2 separate regions of the Homo sapiens genome follow, and region 1 is linked to region 2. Evidence: promoter capture Hi-C in 16 types of primary human blood cells and fetal thymus (Javierre and others, 2016). All regions are on one chromosome and are shown on one strand. The core of a region is centred on a gene start or on the middle of the fragment in contact, and the rest is flanking DNA. Distances in the headings are between cores, read along the strand shown.

The links. Contacts are between HindIII fragments. The CHiCAGO score rates a contact against its expected background, and 5 or more counts as called.
Region 1: a contact is called between a fragment that was not itself captured here and the fragment with the promoter of MRPL44 in region 2, in 1 of 17 cell types (erythroblasts). The highest score is 5.7, in erythroblasts.

Annotation. Positions count from the first base shown.
Region 1 is chr2:224,508,334-224,511,955 of GRCh38, reverse strand. It overlaps CUL3 (cullin 3), which reads left to right. Exons shown (of 16, transcript NM_003590.5): 6 at 374-602. Among named protein-coding and RNA genes, the nearest start is that of CUL3, 75 kb to the left of the region's middle. The HindIII fragment of the contact is 1,041 bases long and covers 762-1,802 here.
Region 2 is chr2:223,955,872-223,959,557 of GRCh38, reverse strand. It overlaps MRPL44 (mitochondrial ribosomal protein L44), which reads right to left and starts at 2,095. Exons shown (of 4, transcript NM_022915.5): 1 at 1,907-2,095; 2 at 1-24. The coding sequence starts at 2,085. RefSeq lists an enhancer at 2,011-2,180 and a silencer at 2,251-2,320. The HindIII fragment of the contact is 10,687 bases long and covers 1-3,686 here.

The sequences.
Region 1 (3,622 bases), core at 33-2,532, 550 kb before region 2:
TTTCTGGTTATAATTTTACATTAAAACAAATCAAAAAAGAATGTCCCACTGTATCTTGGAGTCAGATGCTTCTAAGCTTTTGACCCTCACTGGCGTGTATATACTTGTTCTGCTATTTTTTGGAGTACATTGGCACAGTTTGAAAAACATTGCTTACAGATAATGTTTTAATTTAGTATTATGTAAATACCAAAGGCTTTAAAGGATATAATTCAGACTATATCAGTCTTTCGTGTAATGAGAAATTACACAAAATGCTAATAGTACTTATTTTATTTAGGCTGATTTATTATAAACACTGTAGAAACCCAGCTAAAAGCAAAAACACTCTTTTCTTCTATGTTTAAAAAATATATATATTTTTAAATGGCAGATGGAAAGCCAGAAATTTTTAGCAGAAAATAGTGCTTCAGTATATATAAAGAAAGTAGAAGCTAGAATTAATGAAGAAATAGAACGAGTGATGCACTGCCTTGACAAATCAACGGAAGAACCAATTGTAAAGGTGGTTGAAAGGGAACTCATTTCCAAGCACATGAAGACTATAGTAGAAATGGAGAATTCTGGGCTAGTACATATGTTGAAAAATGGAAAGACAGAAGGTAAGTGTTACCGATTGAAAAATAATTAAATCCTTACTCTGCCTTATCGATATTTTTAAAATTTTCCTACAATTAAAGCAGATAATATCAGCTTTCAAGAAGTTTTGGTGTGTATTGTTAATTTGTCTCCATTGTTAACTTTAATGGGATTTCCAAGCTTGATTCTGTCTTACTAACGAAGATTTTAGATATTTCTAATGAATTGAGCATTTCCTGTCTTTAAGTCTCATTTTACATTTAATCCAGAAGATAAAAGGTGTAATAGTATTGGTGAGCCCAGTGAGCTCCTCATTCATTCCTGTACTTCCTGTATACCAAAGGGTGTGGGCTCTCTTTAGTCCTACATACTCTCTTGGGGTTTTGTGATTCTCTTAAAACCTTAAGTTTCCACCTTAAGATTTTTGTAGACTTTCCTTTGGGATTTAGTTGTGACAGGGTGCTGAAAATGCAAAAATATTTGTGTCTTCCATATTGACATACTTAGATAAATTAGATTGGTTTGGGGAACACTGAAGTTACAGAATGGAAAAGGAGGAAGGAGGAGTGCATAAAAGTAAAGAACATTTTTGAGATAACTAACATTTGTTTTTTATAGCTATTTATTTTCCTGGGGTAAAAGAAAAATTGTGACAAGTATCCTAGAAGAAATTACAAGTTAAAAGAACAATAACCATATCCTCTATTCTTAGTTTCTGATGCTTTGTTTTAAAACTTTGCCTTTACCACTTATATGGTATTAGGAAATAAAAAACATGGTACTTTGTTCTCCTGCTTCCTAGACGAAATCTAAGCAATATTTTATCCACTTCTTTTTAGTAAAAGAAATACATATTGCCTGTTGGGGTCATGAGCTATGTAGGGAATGAAAAAATTTTTTAAAGGAGAATTATAAAGAGAAGGAGGATACAAGAGAAAGGAAAACGAAAGCTGGTGGGAAGTTGAGCCATGTTTATCTCTAGTGGAATCCTTACCTTGTGTTTTAAAATTGTTAAATGTTTGTATATATGAGAAATCCCTGAAAAGTTATATGTAATTTAAAAAAACAAAAAAAAAACAAAAAAAACTAGAGAGGCTTCCTTTTTAAAAGACTCTTCAGTTAAACCTTTTTTGTAAAAGCCAAAAAAAAAAAAAAAACAGAAGTCATCTAGTATATTTGCTGTGTTTTCTAAAATTGAGGTCCAAGTCAGGGGTTGGCAAGCTTTTTTGTTGTTGAATAAAATGGCTTGTGAGCCACGCAGTCATAGTGAGAAAATAGTCCTAGACAATAACAAATGAATAATCCTGTGTTTCTATAAGACTTTATTTATGGGCCCTGAAACTTGAATTTCATATAATTTTTATGTGTCACTAAATAGCATTCTTTACAGTTTTTCCTCAGCCATTAAAAATGTGAAAACCATCCTTAGTTCATGAGCTGTACATAAATAGATGGCAGGCTGTATTTGCCCCACGGGTTCTAATTCGATGACCCTTCTCTAAGTGGTCTCTGGTAGACTGGGACTTTATGCAAAGCATTTGCCCTGCTTAAACAAAATGAGTATTGATAAATTATGTAATGTACTGTTTAGGTATTGAATGAATGCTTTCTTACCTACCTTAGGGGATAGGAAATGTTTGATGGAGAGGTTGTTGGGCATACCTGAATTACAGCATCTCTGTAACCTGTGTGGAGATGTATGTAAAAGGTGTCAGGTATGCCTATCATGGCGAGCACTTACGTGAATGAAGGAATACCATAATAGTACTCACCAGAGTTCTCCTTTATTTAGTACCTTAGGTTTCCAACAACACAGTAGCTATCTGTGATTCTAAATTAAATTTTAAAATCCTGCTTTTGTCCAGGCAGGGTGGCAAACGCCTGTAATCTCAGTATTTTTGGGAGGCTGAAGCAGGTGGATCGCTTGAGCTCAGGAGTTTAAGACCAACCTGGGCAAATTGGTGAAACCCTGTCTCTATGAAAAATACAAAAATTAGCTGGGCATGATGGCACATGCCTAGTCCCAGCCACTTGGGAGGTTGAGGTGAGAGGATCATTTGAATCTGGCTGGGGAGGTCAAGGCTGCAGTGAACCAAGATGATGCCACTGCACTCCAGCCTGGGCTACAGAGGGAGATCCTGTCTTAAGAAAAAAAAGGTGGGGGGGTTAATTTTTCTGAGCTTCCGCTAGAAACCTGGTGGCAAAATATCCTAATTGTGGTAGGCCCTGCTCTTGGAAAAAATGTTGCTCTTGTTGAGAATATAGCAGAGCCAACTTCACCATTATGAAGCCAAATTCTCATAAATCAGAAAATGAAAAACAGTTTTCTCACTGTGAATGGAGGATAAATTGGATTGATTATTAGATGCAGATAGCACTATGAAATGAAGTTCAGAGGTATCTTTTTTTTTTTTTGAGACGAAGTCTTGCTCTGTCGCCCAGGCTGGAGTGCAGTGGTGGGATCTCAGCTCACTGCAAGCTCTGCCTCCCAGGTTCATGCCATTCTCCTGCCTCAGCCTCATGAGTAGCTGGGACTGCAGGCTCCCGCCACCACGCCCGGCTAATTTTTTGTATTTTTATTAAAGACAGGGGGGTTTCACCGTGTTAGCCAGGGTGGTCTCGATATCCTGACCTTGTGATCCGCCCGTCTCAGCCTCCCAAAGTGTTGGGATTACAGGCGTGAGCCACCGTGTCTCGCCAGTATCTTATTATTTTATTAAGTGTATGTAGAAATAATGATATTTAATTTTTGCATGCCAAATTATTTTCATTTACTTTTACATTCCCTTTACCCCAACATTTAAATACAATGAAATTGTAGTAATTTATGTACAACTAAATACACAACATGTAATATCTAAGCAAAACTTACAACAACATAGGATTGAAATAGACAAGTTGTGAACCATTTTGTTAGAAGTATTTGGTGTGCCACATTTACTGTAGTATGTGTCCATAGATTGTTGCATTTGTAATACCTGTTCTAAATATGGGAAACTTGGTTGTAATTTATGCTAAGTATGTGAGAAGCTATAAAATTGCC
Region 2 (3,686 bases), core at 846-3,345:
TAATCCCAGTTCGGCTTCTCTGAACTGAAAATGTAAAGACAGTAAGAGATGGTAAAGAGAACAACCTGTTACTGTGATATAAAAATTGTTCACTGTGTTGTAATGTTATTAATTATATAAAGGAAATGAAAGAAGGTTATATTTCTTTTTAATGCCAGGTTGATATTCTAAATGTTAAGACTAAAGTCAGATAAATACTGGCAGTCCTTTGCTATATTCTACATATATGACTGGATTAATTTTCCCTTTGATCCAATTGTCACATGAAATTGGTTCTTCAATATAAAAGACCAAGCCATTAGCCTAACTTTTAGGTTCCTTATTTCTGCTCTAACCATGATACTATGTTTTATACCTAAGTATGAAGCATAAATGTTAATTTCACAGATTCAAGCCATAAACACTAGTATGTTATATTTGCAGTCATCCCTCAATATCTGTAGGGGATTGGTTCCAAGGACTCTCCTGGATACTGAAATTCATGGATGCTCAAGTCTCTCATATAAATGGTGTAGTACAGGCACACTTCGTTTCACTGTACTTCGGTCTATTGTGCTTCACAGATTTATTGCATTTTATTTTTACAAACTGAAGGTCTGTAGCAATTCTGCATGTGCTCACTTTGTGTCTCTGTGTTACCATTTTTTAGCAATAAAGTATTTTAAATTAAGGTACATATATTGCTTTTTAGACACTACTACTGTACACTTAATAAACTACAGAATAGTATAAACATAACTTAGGTATACACTGGGAAACTAAAAAAGTCATGTGACTCGTTTTATTGTCGTGGTCTAGAACCAACCCTACAATATGTATGAGGTATACCTGTATCTGCATATAACCTATGCACATCCTCCTGTATACTTTAAGTCATCTCTGGATTACTTATACGTAACACAATATAAAACCCCTTTAAGAAACAAAGGGAAGCAAAGTATGAAAACCTAGGTTGAAAGTCGTAAGATATACATATAACATATACACCTATATAATCTGTCCAACCCATAAAGTTTCTTCCACCTTTGAGAGCCTAAAATACTTAATCTTATAATAAACAAGGGAATGGGAATTAAGAAGAGATTTTATTTTTTGCTATAATCTTCTCTGTTAGAAGACCGTTCCTACTGGTAGGAGTACAAAGTGGATCAACATTTTTTGGAGGGCAATGTTAAAGTACTAATAGCTTTCAAAATTTCATACTACACATGCGTCCCCTTTACGCGCTGTTACATAGGTTTTAATGGCAATAATATGGAGCTCATAGGCCCATATATACAGAGCCATAAAAAAGAGTGAGGTACATATCTTTGTAATACCATGACAACATGTCAAACACACATTATTAAAGAGAAAAAGCAAGATGAAGGAATTTAAATTATGTAAAGTATGATCTGGTTTGAAGCTATAAAAACCTGTGTCTCTCTCTGCCAAACCTGTTACCAGAACAGCATTAATTAGGGCAAAAATCTAAAGCTAACTTTTTTTCCTTTTACTCTAGACAGCAGAATTCAGGTTGTAGATTAATTTTTTTTCTCCTTAATTTACGATGCTGTGGGCTGCTTTCTTCCCGCTTATCGGAATTCTCAGGCATTACAAACGGGGACTACAACATCCAAGTCCACATAAGGAAGACCCTCCAGTTAGCCCCATTTCTCCCAATTTTCAGTAGCCAAAATCCTAAATGGTAGTTTCAAAACGTCGGGAACAGCCCGAAGCTCTACCGCCCGCGGCACAAATCCATTTTTTTTGCCTCAGGCCCCGCGCCCACAGCTCACGGGTGTCTCCATCGCAAACTTCCTAAGGCTTAACCCAGGGGCGCATCAGCCGCAGACACGACGCCGCGGGAAGAAGACCCAGTGTCTGCGACCGCCACCCTGAGACCTCTTCCCGAGGTGGCTCCTACCGGCGCACGGGCGGCGGCGGGCACCGCAGAAGGCGCTGCCGCTCTAACTCCTTCTGGAAGCGGAAGGCGGCGCGGAATCCCTTCTTCACTCCCCGAACCGGAGGGACCAGCTTGGGGGCGACTGGAGCCAGGAGGCAGCGATGTCCCTGCTGCAGCAATCTTACCAGCCCGGACGCCATTGCACGAGAGAAAACGATGGAAGACGGAACGAAAGTAGTCGGGCCAGTGTCCCCGTAACACACTTCCCCCGGAACCCGGAACGCGGAACGCGAAGAGAAGGCTGGGGCGGAGACAGCCCCCGGGGCGGGGCGACTGAGAGAGGGCAGGGGCGGAGACAGCCCCGGGGCGGGGTGATTGCGGCCGCCTTGAGGCTACGCTTGCGCTAGTTCTCTCCTCTCTTCGAGTTACTTTCCAATGATCCGGACTTGAGGGCGTTTGCGCCCAAAAGTTTCTGGGAGAAGTTGCTTCACCCTGTCACTCTCTTGTTCCTTCCTCTCTCGTTACAGCAAAACAAACAAAAATCTGTTTCGCTTTCAGGTTAAGGAAACATTTAAATCCTCAAAAAAAGAAAACATTTTTAATTTATATTTAGTGTTCTAGGCCACTACTGAGCAAGTATTTACCGAGCTTCTATTTTTGACCCAGCACGCCTCCAAAAGCCTTAGTTTTGGAAACCCTAGACTCAGAAATGTTGGCTTATCCAAAATTAAAATTTTTCTTTAAAAGCAATCTAATAGTACATATTTTTAAACATCCGGAAAATGACTGGAAAAAAACATAAAACGGTAATAGGGGAATTACAGTTTCTTCCTTCTTTATGTTAACACTCTTTAACAATGTAATTCTATTGCTTTCCTACCAAACTGTTAATACAGTACAATTTTTAAAAGAACATATTAAGTCACAAAGGGAGGCTTGTTTGAATTCCCAGTTTTGAGTTGCCTGCTGAACATCTAGACCCTCAAAGGGGCAATGCTTTCTGTGATCTCTTTGTTAAAGGCATCTGTGTCCCCAGCAGTCACCCAGATTGAACTCCTATGTCTTTGATTGTTTTTGTTTCGACAAACCCCCTCTTCGGTGCAGTTTCCACCAAGTGCTTTTTCCATTTATTTCCACTGCAGGTACCTGGTGGCTCTCCTCACCTCTTTCCGTGGTTAGTGTAATTGGCCTGGTACCTTCCTCCCTTCCCCAGACACAGCTCACCTACATTCATCTCTCTGAAACACAGACCACAAAGCATGTTATGACTTAGCCCGAGAATCTTCAGTGCCAGGATCATAGAACTCAATTTGGGTTTCTCAGCTTGACCATTTCAAAAGGGAGAATCTAAATGGTTCATCTCAGCTTATAAAAGGGTTCCCTTTGGGGAGGGAGAGAGCAAAAGAGGGGCTGAGCACACACCAAAAAACAAACTGATGGATTTCTGGTTGAAGGAAATTCTCCAAGAAGGGGTGAAAGGAGGTTACGATTGACCTTCTTGTTTCAATGTATGTAAAGTATTGAAAATTCATGGAACATCAATCCAATAAATGGATTAGGAGAAAATGCAGGGAACTGTCATTTCTGTAGAATTTCATTTATTAGGAAAAATAATCTAAGCCAGTTGTAGCACAATCATGTTAAGTTAAAATGAGGTGTCTCTGTGTTGAGAGTTTCTCAGTCATACAACAACGAGAGCATCATTTGCAGATTAAAAAAATGTAGGTCCTCAAAAGATTTCTTCTACTAATGCCCTTCATGGAACTTAGGAATTAACCAGTTTTTTAAAATCTGCTCATAC